Linked DNA regions of Homo sapiens: regions 2, 3, 4, 5 and 6 are each linked to region 1. Evidence: promoter capture Hi-C in 16 types of primary human blood cells and fetal thymus (Javierre and others, 2016). All regions are on one chromosome and are shown on one strand. The core of a region is centred on a gene start or on the middle of the fragment in contact, and the rest is flanking DNA. Distances in the headings are between cores, read along the strand shown.

The links. The method cuts DNA at HindIII sites, captures the fragments that hold promoters and counts their contacts. A CHiCAGO score of 5 or more calls a contact.
Region 2: a fragment that was not itself captured here is called in contact with the fragment with the promoter of PLK3 in region 1 in 9 of 17 cell types (megakaryocytes, naive CD4 T cells, total CD4 T cells and 6 more); the score reaches 9.0 in megakaryocytes.
Region 3: a contact is called between a fragment that was not itself captured here and the fragment with the promoter of PLK3 in region 1, in 1 of 17 cell types (total B cells). The highest score is 5.6, in total B cells.
Region 4: a fragment that was not itself captured here is called in contact with the fragment with the promoter of PLK3 in region 1 in 3 of 17 cell types (fetal thymus, total CD4 T cells and naive CD4 T cells); the score reaches 7.4 in fetal thymus.
Region 5: a contact is called between the fragment with the promoter of HPDL here and the fragment with the promoter of PLK3 in region 1, in 1 of 17 cell types (erythroblasts). The highest score is 5.3, in erythroblasts.
Region 6: a contact is called between a fragment that was not itself captured here and the fragment with the promoter of PLK3 in region 1, in 10 of 17 cell types (fetal thymus, naive CD4 T cells, erythroblasts and 7 more). The highest score is 13.4, in fetal thymus.

The regions. Positions count from the first base shown.
Region 1 is chr1:44,799,116-44,801,815 of GRCh38, forward strand. PLK3 (polo like kinase 3) reads left to right here and starts at 1,262. Exons shown (of 15, transcript NM_004073.4): 1 at 1,262-1,558; 2 at 1,725-1,832; 3 at 1,921-2,037; 4 at 2,507-2,636. The coding sequence starts at 1,349. RefSeq lists enhancers at 266-934, 619-678, 729-1,118, 1,889-1,938 and a silencer at 1,219-1,498. The HindIII fragment of the contact is 10,835 bases long and covers 1-2,700 here.
Region 2 is chr1:45,343,899-45,346,598 of GRCh38, forward strand. TESK2 (testis associated actin remodelling kinase 2) reads right to left here. Exons shown (of 11, transcript NM_007170.3): 10 at 1,979-2,096; 11 at 1-1,660. The coding sequence ends at 942. TOE1 (target of EGR1, exonuclease) reads left to right here. Exons shown (of 8, transcript NM_025077.4): 8 at 1-75. Among named protein-coding and RNA genes, the nearest start is that of TOE1, 5.1 kb to the left of the region's middle. The HindIII fragment of the contact is 6,722 bases long and covers 1-2,700 here.
Region 3 is chr1:45,362,333-45,365,032 of GRCh38, forward strand. The region is part of intron 4 of TESK2 (testis associated actin remodelling kinase 2); the gene reads right to left. Among named protein-coding and RNA genes, the nearest start is that of TOE1, 24 kb to the left of the region's middle. The HindIII fragment of the contact is 2,207 bases long and covers 215-2,421 here.
Region 4 is chr1:45,586,629-45,589,328 of GRCh38, forward strand. All of the region lies in intron 1 of NASP (nuclear autoantigenic sperm protein), which reads left to right. Among named protein-coding and RNA genes, the nearest start is that of NASP, 3.9 kb to the left of the region's middle. RefSeq lists enhancers at 1,700-2,200, 2,201-2,700. The HindIII fragment of the contact is 7,555 bases long and covers 1-2,700 here.
Region 5 is chr1:45,325,546-45,328,245 of GRCh38, forward strand. HPDL (4-hydroxyphenylpyruvate dioxygenase like) reads left to right here and starts at 1,350. Exons shown (of 1, transcript NM_032756.4): 1 at 1,350-2,700. The coding sequence starts at 1,604. RefSeq lists enhancers at 1,382-1,431, 1,442-1,691, 2,452-2,561. The HindIII fragment of the contact is 11,997 bases long and covers 1-2,700 here.
Region 6 is chr1:45,519,786-45,522,485 of GRCh38, forward strand. It overlaps PRDX1 (peroxiredoxin 1), which reads right to left and starts at 2,099. Exons shown (of 6, transcript NM_181697.3): 1 at 2,044-2,099. RefSeq lists a silencer at 1,293-1,455 and an enhancer at 2,498-2,577. The HindIII fragment of the contact is 543 bases long and covers 1,157-1,699 here.

The DNA of each region.
Region 1 (2,700 bases), core at 12-2,511:
AGAGACAAGGCCAGGAGGCCTGTGGTCCTGGGCCTCTGTCTCTGGCCCTGGGAAGGGTGGGCATTGCGCAGGGGTCTAGGGGTCCACGTGGTCCAGAGACTAGCTGCCCAAGTGCCCGTGTCTAGCATTTGAGAAAATGCAATTCCCAGCCAGGCAAGGTGGCTCACGCCTGTAATCCCAGCACTTTGGGACGCCGAAGCGGGTAGATCACCTGAGGTTGGGAGTTCCAGACCAGTCTGACCAACATGGAGAAACCCCGTCTCTACTTAAAAAAAAAAAAATACAAAATTAGCCGGGTGTGATGGCGCATGCCTGTAATCCCAGCTGCTCGGGAGGCTGAGGCAGGAGAATCGCTTGAACCTGGGAGGCAGAGTTTGCGATGAGCCAAGATCGCGCCATTGCACTCCAGCCTAGGCAACAAGAGCGAAACTCTGTCTCAAAAAAAAAAAAAAGAAAGAAAGAAAGAAAAAAGAAAATCCAATTCCCATTCACTTTCTGGCCTCTGGCTGCTGACCCAGGCCCGGGGGTATTTTCAGAGGAAGGGAATTGCGGACCCCGGAGGAACCCGAAATTTGCCCCTCAAGAGTGTAGAAGTGGGTAGCGGAAGATGTGGCCTGGAGCATGGTAAAAGCCTTGAAATTCCAGACTCTGCTTGACTCCTAAACCTGGCAAGGCAGCCCTCGGGCCAGGCAAGCCAGGCGCGAGACTGTGCCTTCCTTCCAGGCCCTAAAGAGGGCAGCACTGGGCCGGGCCCCGGGCGAGGGCGAGGGACACACGCGGTCCGGCACACTGAAAGGGGAGTGTCGGGTAACATGCCCGGGCAAAAGCGAGCGCCGCCCCTGCCTCTCCGCTGCTGGCTGGAACGCTGATCTATCTAGTTGCTGGGGAGACGCCCCCAGATGCCCGGGCCCCACTCGGACTTCAGCACACATCCCGAAGGATGGGGAAAGAAAGAGGCCCCCACGAGCGGGACTCGCAGTGGCCAAGGAGGGGTGAGAGGCGGACAGGGATCAGCTGGCCCCTGCGGCCTGGTTGCACCTGCATGGTGACTAGCTGCCGGGCTGCGCCCCGGGGCGCGGCGAGGAGGCGGGGTCTGGCAGTGCGTTGGGTGGGGGAGGAGCTTCTGGGTGATGTAAGGCCGGGAATGGGAGTGGCCTCTCCTCGACTCGCTGCTAGGAAGGGGGCGGGACTCTCGGTGACCAGACGCCGGGGAGGGGGCAGGCGTTCATTGATAAAACGCTGGGCTCCCCTGGGCGCCAGCGCAGCGTAGCAAATCCAGGCAGCGCCACGCGCGGCCGGGGCCGGGCGGAACCGAGAAGCCGGGACCGCGCTGCGACGCGCCGGCCGCATGGAGCCTGCCGCCGGTTTCCTGTCTCCGCGCCCCTTCCAGCGTGCGGCCGCCGCGCCCGCTCCCCCGGCCGGGCCCGGGCCGCCTCCGAGTGCCTTGCGCGGACCTGAGCTGGAGATGCTGGCCGGGCTACCGACGTCAGACCCCGGGCGCCTCATCACGGACCCGCGCAGCGGCCGCACCTACCTCAAAGGCCGCTTGTTGGGCAAGGTGGGCCGAGGGACGTCCGCGGGGTGGTGATGGTGGAGGTGGGGGTCCCGGCCGGCCTCTTTTCTGGCGCCGAGCAGGGCGTGGGCACTTGACCCCCAACGCGGGGACGCCCGCGGGCCAGACTCGGCCCCCCTGGAACAACCAGCCTGATGCCCCCTCTTCACAGGGGGGCTTCGCCCGCTGCTACGAGGCCACTGACACAGAGACTGGCAGCGCCTACGCTGTCAAAGTCATCCCGCAGAGCCGCGTCGCCAAGCCGCATCAGCGCGAGAAGGTGGGTCCAGGCTCAGCGGGCGAGGGGTGGGGTGGGGACGGTGGCATGGGAACCATGGAAGGATGACGACTCCGCGCCCTCATCGCAGATCCTAAATGAGATTGAGCTGCACCGAGACCTGCAGCACCGCCACATCGTGCGTTTTTCGCACCACTTTGAGGACGCTGACAACATCTACATTTTCTTGGAGCTCTGCAGCCGAAAGGTGAAAGATGGTGATTCCCGCAGGGATGAGAGTGAGGGAGAGAAGACAGTCTTTTTTTTTTTTTTTTTTTTTTTTGAGATGGAGTCTTGCTCTGTTGCCCAGGCTGGAGTGCAGTGGCGCGATCTCGGCTCACTGCAATCTCTGCCTCCCGGGTTCAAGCAATTCTCCTGCCTCAGCCTCCTGAGTAGCTGGGATTACAGGCATGCACCACCACGCCCGGCTAATTTTTGTATTTTTAGTAGAGACAGGGTTTCACCCTGTTGGTCAGGCTGGTCTCAAACTCCTGACCTTGTGATACACCTGCCTTGGCCTCCCAAAGTGCTGGGATTACAGGCGTGAGCCACTACACCCAGCCGAGAAGACAGTCTTAAGACCCAAAGCTGGGGCCCTGTTTCTTCCTCAGGGAGCACAGATGGAGGGGGAGGGGGAGGGAGGGCTCACCAGGGGCTGAGGCAGTGGCTCTCTGCAGTCCCTGGCCCACATCTGGAAGGCCCGGCACACCCTGTTGGAGCCAGAAGTGCGCTACTACCTGCGGCAGATCCTTTCTGGCCTCAAGTACTTGCACCAGCGCGGCATCTTGCACCGGGACCTCAAGTTGGGTGAGACTCCTGAGCCTGGAGGATGGGAGGTTGGGGAGGGAGGGAGGGAGGGAGGAAGGAAAGA
Region 2 (2,700 bases), core at 97-2,596, 540 kb after region 1:
TTTATTTTTAAGTCTGAAAATGTCTTGGGAAAGTTTTACAAAAAAAAAAATCAACAGAAGCAAGTTATGAAAATATTTGACCAGCTTCATCTTTGGTTATTTCTTATTGCAGCTCTGTAAGGACAGACTGTTCCCAAAGCTCCAGCCATGGCAGGAAGGGAAGCAAATCAGTCCCTGTATAAACCATTTAACCAATTGAATGTATCACATGTTGATAAATACATAGAAGCAGGCCCTAGGGCCTACAAAACCAGCCCCACTCCCAACCACAAGGTTGAAAGTCTTATGGGGCAGAACATTAAGACTCCTTTATAAATATGAAAATAGATTAATCAACAGGAAAAGGTCTTTGAATAGGTTAGCTAAGAGCCATGACCACCACGCTGCCTTGCTGTCCCCTTGCATAGAAATGTAGTGACGTGGTCTGACCATGCAGTAAGTGCAAACAGCAATTACTCAAATGTCTTAGAATACTGGCAAGAAGCACCCCAATATTCAGGTCTGGGAAACAGCCATGACCATTACGGCCTCTTGATCAGCTCCATGTTCCACTCAGTAGCTTATATGCCCCAAGAAAAGGCAAGAGACAGACCTGGGGTGGGGAAAGAACCGGGGTAATAGCTGCCTGCCAGCTCAGCCTAGAACTAGACATCCTCTGGTCCTATCTGGGGAAGTACACTGGAGAGGGTCTGGTGGGAGGCAGACCTCCTTGCTGGATTTCAGAGGCTTGGTATCAGCTGTTGGCCCTAACTAGGAAGGCCTCTCACTGCTGCCTCCCGTCATACACAGCCAATGGGCACTGGGAGCCCAGAAGTTGAGCCTGGCTTGGCCTAGCCTGCCTGCTCTGTAGGCTCCAGGGAAGAATCAAGGCTGTGCACCTAGGGGGCCATATGGTTTCAGCTGAAGGTCCATCCCCAAGGTGAGGCAGGGACTAAACCCCCTCACCCATCCTGCTTTCCCTGGGTTTGCAGGCCTATGCCTGAGGTGGAGAAGGTGGCTGGAGTTGAGCCTGCTGGCCTTTCTTCTACCTCCATCTCCTCAGAAGCACCCGCAGGGCATGGACTGGTCCCCTGGGGCCTGGACCCAAAACCATTTTCTTCCTGGAGAATGGAGCAGTCCATAGCCTCATGGGCTTGAGCAGCTGGTAGGGCAGATGCCCGGAATGGTGGGATCTCTTTAACTCTGTACTTGAGACTACTTAGGCGTGGTGGGGGCCCATCAGATAGCGATTCTTCCCGGCCCACAAATGGACAAGCCTCTTGATGCAAGAACTCAGGCGAACCAGGCAAGGAACGCCACCGGCGAATAGGTGGGGCCAGGGGCTCCTGCCAGTCAGCCAGGGGCATAGTTCCGGGCCCTGGTGCATCCAGGTCAAATACCAGAGAGATGACAGACTTGCTGGGCAGGTCAAAAAACTTGATCTTGCCCCCCATGAGGTCCTGGCGAGCACTAAAAGGGTTGACTTTGGGGGTGCGGGCAGCACCATCTCGTGGCCGGTAGTATGGGTCCAAGACACTCACTGTACGTGGGGGCTTACGGGAAAAGATATCTGACTGGCTTCGAGACAGCCAGATGGTACGTCTTGGGCATGGTGACTTGTGGGGGATCTTGTCATCCAGTGAGCTTAGTCGCTTCACCCCAGGTGCTTTCTCCAAGAGTCCTGAAGAATAATCAAGTCTGGGTTACTCTCACTAGTCATAACAAATACAAGCAGCATTTTACCACAGAATGTTTTCACTCATGAAAGCAAAGCTGATACCATGGCCCTGTTTTACCAATGAAGAAACAGACTCAGAGAGGGGAAGCAGTATGCCAAGCCACAGCTCTTAAAAAGGCCAGTACTTTCTGCATCATCTCCTTCCCCTCCCATTTGTTTCTGGACCTGGGATCCTGGCAATCACAACCCTAAGAGGAGAAGGCCCCACATCCGAATTTCCTCCCTTAGGGTTAGGTTGGGCTCCCTGGTCTAATCTCTTACCCCTGGCTGTGGGCTGCAGCTTCCTATCCCTCTCCTGCTCTTCTTCCTGTAGGCGGCTCAGAATTTCCTCCAGGGTCTTCCCAATCTCCACAAAAGATGGGCGCAGTTTGGGATCCATCTGTAGGTATCCACAACAGCCATGAGCTCTGCCCTCCATCTCCCACCCCAAAGATGGCATTTGAGTCTATTTCTGGCATCTTTGAAGATTCAGATGTGCAGCTGAGAGACCTTTTCTAAAGGCCCCAGACAATGAAGGTGATCCCTACAGTTCAGGTCAGGGAAAACACTACTGTCTACTACCCTCCCTGTCTTAGTGTTTGTCTTATCACCTTGTCACAGAACCTTCCAAAAGTATGCTCATATTAGTTTATTCTGTTCTTGAGTTCTGCTCCTAATGTGTTTCTGGGAGGTATCTGAACAAAGCCCACCTACCCCTTGATCCTAACAGGTAAGGTCCAGCCCCAGAGCTACATACATGAAGGCCAAGAAGAGCCTTTCTCATATGCCTCAGGACCAGTTGGATCCACAGTCCAACAATAAAACCGGACCAGAGTTCCATCAACACCTAACGCAAGGAGTGATGGGTCTACCCTACAGGTTGAGGACCAGATAATACAAAACAACTTCTTTCTTTCCTTTGTCCAGAGCTCTGAATAGGTTAGCTGCCAGAGGGAGGAGGAGGAGGTGTGGTTGCTGTCACTACAGTGAAAATGAGGTCCCTC
Region 3 (2,700 bases), core at 68-2,567, 560 kb after region 1:
ATAAACATATCCATACAGAGAATATTCTGGACTGGCTCTAGGGAATATGTACCTCTCTCTGAGGTAAATGCACCCAGGACTCCAGTTCCCAATTCTTGCTGATTCTAGTCAGCTACAGTAGTTTCAACCAATTATAACTATTCAGAACAATAAGACAAAATGGTAGTTTTAAAAAAATTTGAATTACCAGTGTACTGATACCTGCAACCAAATAAGCTTATCTCTGAACAGTGGTTCAAAGGCATTCAGAGAAGGTCTGGAGAAAATATCAACTCTAAGAATTATTATTCCTTTTTGAAAAATCTACCCAACTGGCCAGGAGTTAGGGCATTTACCCAAAGAAGATAACTGTGCTGTCATCTAACTAGCAGAGATAATTTGCTACCATCTAATTAGCAACATGGTACTGAGAAAGATTCATCCATCCTTCTGTTCACCTACCCAAACACTGAAAACCTACAATGTGAAACACAAAGATAAATGGGGCCAGTCTCTGCCCACAGAGACTAGTCTAGCCTAGATGGTCTAGTAGGGATGCCATACAATCAACTAACACTTTTTTTTTTTCACACAGGAGAATAACATGATCAGATATGCTACATAGAAATATTCTAACAGTAGTATAAAAATTGTATGAAAAGGTCAGGAACTGAGGCTGGGAGAAGAGTTAGGATAACCAAGGCCTGAATAAGACAATGGCAGCAAGAATGGAAAGGAGGTTATTATCTCAGAGACATTAGAGGTAGAATCAGCAAGATTTGGTGTTTGTTCAAAGGCAAGGAGTAATTAAAGAGATAAGGTCTAAATACAAAGTCAGTCCAGTTTGGTGTTTAGCTCATAGTACACAACTCATTCTCCCATTTAACAGTATCTTTTTAAAATTTATTTTCATTTTTTACAACAGGTAGAACCCACTATCAATAACTTATCATTCTCACGCCTCCCTTAGGTTATTCCATTAGCTTTCTAACCTGTTTTCTTGCCCCCTTTTGCATCTTGAAAAGATTTAGCCCTCATTCCAATCCATTTTCCACAATATAGCCAAGACAATCTTTCTGAAATGCCAACCTGAAGCCACTCTCCTGTTAAAATTATTCAGTGATGTGCTATTACTTGTAGGATAAAACCCACAATCCTTAGAAAGGCACACAAAGCCTTTCACTCCTGCTTATAAAAGTCTGACTCCTGCTCACCTGCACATTTGTACACATTGCTGGTCCCTTTACCTCTAATATCCTTCCCCTTTCCCCACCTAGGCCTGGCTAATATTCACTCATTGTTGAGGATTTAATTCCATTTCATGGTAACCCATAGGCAGGGTTGGGGATAAGAAAGACAGTCTATGCAAAAGGAACACAAAGATAACAAAGCACAGAGATTAGTAATTATTCTTTTTTTTTTTTCTGTATAAGTAGGGGAGAAAGTATGAAGCTAAAAAGTTAAGATGGGCAGTATAATATAGTGGTGACTGCAGTTAGGCTGGCTAGGATTGAATCTCATCTCAGACTATAATAGTTGTAGAGCCCTGAGTTGGTTACTCAGTTTGTTTAATACACATCTATAAAATGGGAATAATAATAGTGCCTAACCCACAGAGTTGTTGTGAAGATTCAGTAAGTTGATACATGTAAAATGCTAAGAATAATGTCAAGGAAAGTGCTCAATATGTCAGTTATGACTATTTCTATTATTATTATTATATTTGTTATTAGTGCAGAAGTTCTGGAATACCAAGATGAAGCATCTACAGTTAATTCAGCAGACCACAGGGGCCACTGAAGGTTTATAGGTAAAGGTATAATATGATCTAATGGGGGTTGAATTACATCCCCCCAAAAGATGCATGCAAGTCCTAAACCCTGGTAAGGTAACTATAAATGTGACCTTATTTGGAAATAGGGTCTTTGCCAATGTAATCAAGTTAAGATGAGGTCACATTGGAGTAGGGCAGGCCCTTAATCCAATACGACTGGAATCCTTATAAAAAGAGTGGCAAGAGATATAGGCACACAGGGAAAATGTCATGTTAAGATAGAGGCAGAAATTGGACTGAGACATCTACAAGCCAAAGAACACCAAAAACCTACCAGAAGCTAGGAAAAGGCAAGAAGGATCTTCCCGTAGAGCCTTCAGAGAGAACAAGGCCCTACCAACACTTTGATTTTGGACTTCCAGCCTTCAGAACTCTGAGATAATAAGTTTCTGCTATGTCACCCACATTGTAGTGCTTTGCTATGGCAGCTCTAAGAAACTAATACATGACCCAAACTGCATTTTAGAAAGATCATTCTGGTAGCAGGATAGAGAAGGAATTAGAGGCAGTTTTGGAGGGTACTGCAACAGCCAGATGAGAGGTGACCAAACATCTAACTAACAGTGCTATTTATGGGCAAGAAAAAGTTGGCTATAGTCAGAATATAAAGCTTTTTAGCAACTGAGTGATAGATATGAGAAATAAGGAAAAAGAGTCAAAGACATCTCAGAGATTCCAAATTGAAAGGTTCAGACAGCAATGGAAAAAGATTTCAGAATCTTAAATGACTCAATGTGCCATCAGTAAGTCAGAAACCTGTCAGAAACCAGTATCAATGTCAAACAGCCAAATTAGTGGCTTGTTGGCACTCTACTCTTTGGAGGGGCTCTTTGCAGAAAAGGGTTTGGGCCCCGACCTAGTTTTCACTGTAGCCCAACAATACTTTT
Region 4 (2,700 bases), core at 123-2,622, 790 kb after region 1:
AATTAGTGTGAGAGAACATGAAAGCAGTGTGTCTCAGTTAAGTAAGTTAGTGGGGACACTTAGAGGTAAAGTTTATAAGGTCCTCATGTTTAAGGGTAGGATAAAGAAAATGACTTGAATTTAGACTTTAGGTAAGAATGTACATTATAATTCGAGGATGACCATTGAAAGAATAAATATAACTTCCAAACCAGTAGAAAGAAAAAAAATGGAATGAGAAATAAACCTCAGTTCAGGTTTTTTAAATTTAGGAGATGAGGATCTTACTATGTTGCCCAGGCTGGATTCCCAACTCCTAGTCTCAAGCAATCCTTCCATCTCAGCCTTCTGGGTAGCTGGGACTACAGGCATGCATCACCTCGCCTGGCTTAGAATTGGCTTTGATAGCAGCTTCATTGCTTCAGTAGTGATATTGGACCACAGTTTTGTCGTCTGCAAAAAGTCTTAGGTTGGCTTTTGTCCCCTCGTGCCATTAAAGCAGTATTGTTTAAGGTGATGTATATCTACATGCTAAATTAATCCTGTCATTCTTAGCTTTCTAACTAGTTCTTAGTTGGTTTTTTTTTGTTGTTTTTTTTTTGAGAGGGAGTTTTGTCACCCAGGCTGGAGTGCAGTGGCACAATCTCTGCTCACTGCAACCTCCGCCCTCCCGGATTCAAGCAAGTCTCTTGCCTCAGCCTCCCAAGTAGCTGGGACTGCAGGTGTGTACCACCACACCTGGCTAATTTTTTGGGGTTTTGCCATGTTGGCCAGGGTGATCTCGAACTCCTGACCTCAGGTGATCAGCCGGTCTCGGCGTGAGCCACCGTGCCCGGCTGCAGTTATGATTTAATACTGCATCTTTGTTCATTTACATATCTCAACTGTGGATGGTGCCGTGTATGGTCTGTGTGTTTTGATGAATTTTAACTTTTTATAATTTGTATTTTATGGTAGTGAAGAAGACTAGTACCTACATATCTTTTATGCATTGATTACATACATTTTGTTAATTCAACATTTCTAGGCTATGAGGTTTGTCTTGAGTTTTTTCATATATATATATATATATATATATATAATTAATTTTTTGGAGAGAGAGTCTTGTTGTCTTGCCCAAGCTGGAGTGTAGTGGCCAGATCTTGGCTTACTGCAACTTCTGCCTCCCCTGTGCAAGCGATTCTTGTGCATCAGCCTCCCAAGTAGCTGAGACTACAGTTTACAAAAATTAGCCGAGCATGGGTAGCAGGGTCCTGTAATCGCTTGAAACCGGGAGGCAGAGGTTGCAGTGAGTCGAGATTGTGCCACTGCACTCTAGCCTCAGAGCAAGACTCCATCTCAAAAAAAAAAGGGCCAGGTGGTGTGGCTCACGTGGTAATCCCAACACTGTGGGAAGCCAACACGGGCATATCACTTGAAGCCAGGAGTTCGAGACCAGCCTGGCTGACATGGCAAAACCCCGTCTCTACTAAAAATACAAAAATCAGCCAGGCGTGGTTGCGCATGACTGTAGTCATTCAGAGTCTAACTCCGTTGCTCAGGCTGGAGTGCACTGGTGCGATCTAGGCTCACCGCAGTCTCCACCTCCAGGGTTCAAGCAATTCTCCTGCCTCAGCCTCCCAAGTAGTTGGGATTACAGGCGCCCGCCACCACACCTGGCTAATTTTTGTATTTTTAGTAGAAATGAGGTTTTACCATGTTGGCCAGGCTGGTCTCGAACTCCTGACCTCAGGTGATCCACTCACCTTGCCTTTCCAAAGTTCTGGGATTATAGGCGTTAGCCACCGTGCCCAGGCTACACTTCTTTTTTTAAAATTAATTTTTTGAACTAGAGAAGGGGTCTCATTTTGCTGCTTAGCCTGGTCTCAAACTCCTAGCCTCAAACAGTCCTTCTGCCTTCCAAAGTGCAGGGATTATAGCTGTGAGCCTAGCCTTGAATTTCTGTTAGCAATGTATGGGAGTACAATTTCTCCTTAACCCTATCTTTGACTATTCGATGGGTAAAACATACTTTCTAAGTATAGTTTTTTTGTTTCTCTTAAGAATGAGCGGCCGGGCGCGGTGGCTCACACCTGTAATCCAGCACTTTGGGAGGCCGAGGTGGGCAGATCACGAGGTCAGGAGATCGAGACCATCCTGGCTAACACGGTGAAACCCCATCTCTACTAAAAATACAAAAAAAAAATGTAGTCCCAGCTACTTGAGAAGCTGACGCAGGAGAATGGCGTGAACCCGGGAGGCGGAGCTTGCAGTGAGCCGAGATCGAGATCGCGCCACTGCACTCCAGCCTGGGCAACAGTGCGAGACTCCGTCTCAAAAACAAAAGAATGAGCAGTAGCAGGTGGTCAAGTGTTTGTTTGTTTGTTTGTTTGTTTGTGAGTGTTTATATTAAATCCATTAATCTATTCCCATTGGGCTTTTTTATCCTGTTGACTAAGATTCTATGTATATTTGCTAAGTTAACCTTTTGTGAAATGAATTAGATGGAGTAGAATCTGTCAATATCCTATGGTTTCTGGTTTGTTTGTTTATTTATTTGAAACAAGGTCTTACTCTCTCACCCAGGCTAGAGTATAGTGGTATGATCATAGCTCACTGCAGCCTCTATCTCCTGGGCTCAAGCAATCTTCCCATATCAGTCTCTGGAGTAGCTGGGACTACAGGCATGTACCACCATGCCCATCTCATTTTATTTTTGGTAGAGATAGGTCTCGCTGTGTT
Region 5 (2,700 bases), core at 100-2,599, 530 kb after region 1:
GCTTTTGGAACTCATGTCCTCACATTCACTGGTCTGCAGAGTAGCACCAAGTACCTTTTACCACCCTGACCAGCTCCTGGGTACTGCCCTCCTGCCTGCAGGCCTGAACACCATGACATCCAGCTAGCCCCTGTCCCCTATGACATCCTTCTCCCTCTTGCCAATGAAACCCAGTAGATCAGGCTGCCTGACAAAAAAATTTCTTGTGATGCCTTGGACTGTGGCATTCATCCTAAATGCCTCCCTAACAGCATGGCCCATTGCTCCTCTAAGAGTCTGGCTCACACTCTTACTGAGTTTTTGCTTATGCCCTTTGCCCTTCTTGGATGCCCTTCCCTAACCCTTCAAGGGCCACTCAGTTGAAGTTCCAGAAGACTACAAATTCCTCAATCCAGTCATCTCACACAATTCTGGGTTTCAGAGCCAGAAGTGCCCCCACCACAGAAATCTCTGGCTCAATGCCAAGTCAGGAAGCTGCAAAGAGCAAGGAGGGCCTGTGTTCCAGTCCTCAAAGGATGGGGAAGGGGAATGACAGCCAGGCAGCTGTTCCTTTCAGATCCCGAACCGTCAGATTTTTCCTCCAAATCTTGCTTGGGACAAGGGGTTAAATGATGTTGACAGAAGGGTGATTGAAGAAAGAGACAGGACTGGTTGAGAGATTGCCCAACACTTTGGGAGGCTGAGGTGGAAAGATGGCTTGAGCCCAGGGGTTTAAAACCAGCTTGGGCAATATAGCAAGACCCCATTTCTAAAAAAAAAAATTATTTTTAATTAGCTGGGTGTGGTGGCGTCCGCCTGTGGTCCCAGCTATTTGTGCACTGAGGCAAGGAAAATCGCCTGAACCCAGGAGGTGGAGGCTGCAGTGAGCTGTGATTGTGCCACTCCAGCCTGGGTGACAGAGTGAGACCCTGTCTCAAAACATATAAACGTGTGTGTGTGTGTGTGTGTGTGTGTGTGTGTATTCCAGGGAACATTAAGACTTAGAGGCAAACTCCAGAACTTAAAGAAAAAACATGAAAGTGCTAAAAAATTCCGTGCTTGTGGAGAGAGAATTCCAACTCTTTCCCTGAACCCGGGCTGAGTCCCTTCGCTGTGAGGTTGGGGGGATGAGTGGGAGCCCAGTGCCTGGCGCCGAGTGAAGGCAGCCATTGTGAGTTCCTGGGCTGGGGAAGGGAGGCTCAGTGCCCAAGGATGTGACCAGGCGTGAGGCCCGGGGAAAGAGCAGCGCGGCGACCCCGCAGTATCCGAGGCGACAGGGTGTGGGGGAGGGGGTGGGGAGTCAAAGGCGGAGTCACGGGCTCCGCCCTCTTTCTCCTGCTTGGCGCGAGCACAGGCACCGCGTGGTTCTCACAACCAGCAGCTCGGCTCACTGAGACCCGGTGGTCCAGACGCTGCTCCTGGCTGGGGTGGCGCTGCAGGGAGAACCGCGAGCTCTCAGGGGTCGGCGGGTGACTTCTTTCCGGAAGAAAGCGAGGAACGCGCTCTGCGGGGTGAGCCGGACTCCCCAACTCCGGACGATCAGCCCAGGACTGAGAGCCCCGAAGTCCCCAACCACAAGTAAGCGGCCCCAGAAGGACAAGTCTAGGTCGCCGTCCAGAGCGCCATGGCCGCGCCCGCCCTTCGTTTGTGCCACATCGCCTTCCACGTGCCCGCCGGGCAGCCCCTAGCCCGGAACCTGCAGCGCCTCTTCGGCTTCCAGCCCCTGGCTTCGCGGGAGGTGGACGGCTGGCGGCAGCTAGCCCTGCGCAGCGGCGACGCGGTCTTTTTGGTGAACGAGGGCGCAGGGTCTGGAGAGCCGCTGTACGGCCTGGATCCGCGTCACGCCGTGCCCAGCGCCACAAACCTGTGCTTCGACGTGGCGGACGCCGGCGCTGCAACCCGGGAGCTGGCAGCGCTGGGCTGCAGCGTGCCTGTCCCTCCCGTTCGCGTGCGGGACGCGCAGGGTGCCGCCACTTACGCCGTGGTCAGCTCGCCTGCCGGCATCCTCAGCCTGACCTTGCTGGAGCGCGCTGGCTACCGCGGACCCTTCCTACCCGGCTTCAGGCCCGTGTCCTCTGCGCCTGGCCCCGGGTGGGTCAGCCGCGTGGACCACCTGACCTTGGCCTGCACCCCCGGCAGCTCCCCCACACTTTTGCGCTGGTTCCACGACTGCCTGGGCTTTTGCCACTTGCCGCTGAGCCCAGGTGAGGATCCCGAGCTGGGCCTCGAAATGACAGCAGGGTTTGGGCTTGGGGGACTGAGGCTTACAGCCCTGCAGGCCCAGCCGGGCAGCATTGTCCCCACTCTTGTTCTGGCTGAGTCCCTTCCGGGGGCGACGACACGACAGGACCAGGTGGAGCAGTTCCTGGCCCGGCACAAGGGGCCAGGCCTGCAGCACGTGGGGCTGTATACGCCTAACATTGTGGAGGCCACTGAGGGGGTGGCAACTGCTGGAGGCCAGTTCCTGGCTCCCCCTGGGGCATACTACCAGCAGCCAGGAAAGGAGAGGCAGATCCGAGCTGCAGGGCACGAGCCTCATCTGCTTGCTCGACAGGGGATCCTGCTAGATGGTGATAAAGGCAAGTTTCTGCTTCAGGTCTTCACCAAGTCCCTTTTTACTGAGGACACTTTCTTCCTGGAGCTGATTCAGAGGCAGGGGGCCACTGGCTTTGGTCAGGGCAACATCAGAGCTCTGTGGCAGTCCGTACAGGAGCAATCTGC
Region 6 (2,700 bases), core at 178-2,677, 720 kb after region 1:
CGGGATTTCTCCATGTTGGTCAGGCTAGTCTCAAACTCCTCACCTCAGATGATTGCCCAACTCAGTCTCCCAAAATGCTGGGATTACAGGCGTGAGCCACCGCGCCCTTCCAGTCAGTCCAACTTTTAAGAGGCAAGACCACTGGGCGCAGTGTCTCACACCTGTAATCCCAGCACTTTGAGAGGCTCAGGCGGGCGGATCACCGGGTCAGGAGTTCGAGACCAGTCTGGCCAACATGGTGAAACCCCGTCTCTACTAGAAACACAAAAATTAGTCGGGCGTGGTGGTGCATGCCTGTAATCGCAACTACTCAGGAGGCTGAAGCAGGAGAATCACTTGAACCCGGGAGGCAGAGGTTGCAGTAAGCTGAGATCGCGCCACTGCACTCCAGCCTGGGCAACAGAGTGAGACTCTGTCTCCAAAAAAAAAAAAAAAAAAAAGAGGCAAGACCAAGATATTGATTGGCATCTGCTTAATTTCAAATCTTTAGGTATTGTGTAAGCCCTAGAATTCCCTTCACCATTTGTGAAGGTGGGTTCCTGACTTTGGGGCTAATATCCCAGGGCGAAAACAAGTATAAGAATCAATTTACTGCTGAAAAGGAAGGTTGCACTGGATTCACCCAGATCAACACCAAGATTAGTATTGAGATCTTGGCCAAGCGCTGTGGCTCAAGCCTGTAATCCCAGCACTTTGGGAGGCCGAGGCAGGCAGATCACCTGAGGTCAGAAGTTCGAGACCAGCCTGGCCATCATAGTGAAACCCCGTCTCTAACAAAAATACAAAAAATTAGCCGGGGGTGGTGGCACGCGCCTGCAGTCCCAGCTACTCGGGAGGCTGAGGCAGGAGAATGGCGTGAACCCGGGAGGCGGAGGCTGCAGTGAGCCGAGATCCAGCCACTGCACTCCAGCCTGGGCGACAGAGCGAGACTCCGTCTCAAAAAAAAAAAAAAAAAAAAAATACAAAAATTAGCCGGGGCTTGGTGGCACAAGCCTGTAATCCCAGCTACTCCTAAGGCTGAGGCAGAAGAATTGCTTGAATTCGGGAGACAGGGGTTGCAGTAAGCCGAGACCGCGCCACTGCACTCCAGCCTGGCCGACAGAGCGAGACTCTAGCTCAAAAAACAGAGATTTAACCCACTAAGCCGCGGTCTGAAAGCTTTTCCAAGTCCCAAAGTTCTTAGTTCACAATACCACAAGCAAAAGAAATTTTGTAAGCATGGATCTTAGCAAACTTTTAACTGTTTTTTAAAAAGTCCTTAACACCTTTAACGACAAAAAACAAAAACCAAAAACTAAGGCATGCTGCAACTTGGTGCCCCCAAATGGCCTTCTCGTCCAATCCTTCTTTCCCAAGTGGCCCCCAAGTACAAAACCCAACCAATTCGGGGTAAAGGCTGCTGGGATTCAGGCCGCCACCGGGCCCCTTCAGGGGATCTGCCCAGCGTAGAGGGCCACATCCCTAAACCCCACTTCAGGTGCCCCCTGTCCCTCCCCAGCACTGGAGAAAGCACCAGCAGAGAGAGTGCTTCAGCGGGGACATTTGGGCTCATCGCTAACTCCATTCCACGTACAGGAAAATAAAGACGGGGAAAGGGTACCCGAAGCTCCGCAGCTAGTCAAGGCTCAGGACCCGGAACAGCCAAATACATAGAGGCTGTCTTCTACAGCCACGAGTCTGGATACAGGTCCATTCCAGAAGCTTCCCGAACCCACCCCGTCCGGCAGGAGGCTAGTCTCGGAGACCCCCACCACCAGCCCGCCCAGACGCCGCGCCACGTGCTCGAGTTGCCGGGGGAAGACTCGACTCGAGTCCACGCTTGCCTTGGGGTTCAACCAGGTTCCCGCACCTACGTGGGGGGCCCACGAGAGGGGTGTGCGCAGCGCTCAAGCAGTCTCGGACTCCGGGCCTCCCCCGGCTGCCTCACGCATCACAGCACCCCCACCCGAGCGCGGGCGGGCCCCGGACAGGAGGAGGAAGAGGCAACAGGCAAGAAGGGCGCGCCGCGCCTCACTCCGCAGGGGCCGCACTGCCCACACTCACCAGTCCCAACACAAGTCGCAGAAACTAACCACCGACACCAGGCAAGAACAAGACGCGCAAGAGCTCTCCGGGGCGCTGCCTTTATAGCCAGTAGGGATCTCGCGAGAGTCGGAACGGACGGGGGTGCCGGAGGAGGAGAGAGAGGAGGGGGATGTGGCCCGAGCCCCGCCCGGCGCGCCCCGCCGGAATGACTCGGCGCTTTCCCTCGTTGGGGCGGGTGCGGAAAAATACTAATACCCCACCCTGTTGCGGATGGCTGAGGTTGGAGTGAGGCGCCCTTGTGGCCGCTCCCGAACCCGAACGCTTAGGTTAATCCTAGATCTCTGCGGAAAACCAGGATTCTCTTTACTTCCAGGACCACTACGCACTGTGCCCTCAATGCCCAAACTGGAGTAAGCGTCTTAGCTGCTGCCCACGGAGGACCACGTCTAACCACACCAAGCCATGAGAACTGTCTATCCAAATATTTCTTAAGTTCGCAGCCTTAACCCCAGCGCAGATCCTCAGTAACCCTCATGGCTTAGATAGCTTCCTTCATTGTTCTCTTTAATTACAGGGTTGCTGCTTTCTGTTGTAAAGGAAAATAAAATATCAGGACTCCTAAACTTACGCCAGAGGGAAAGTTCATCTTGGGAGGCTGATTCAGTTACACGACCA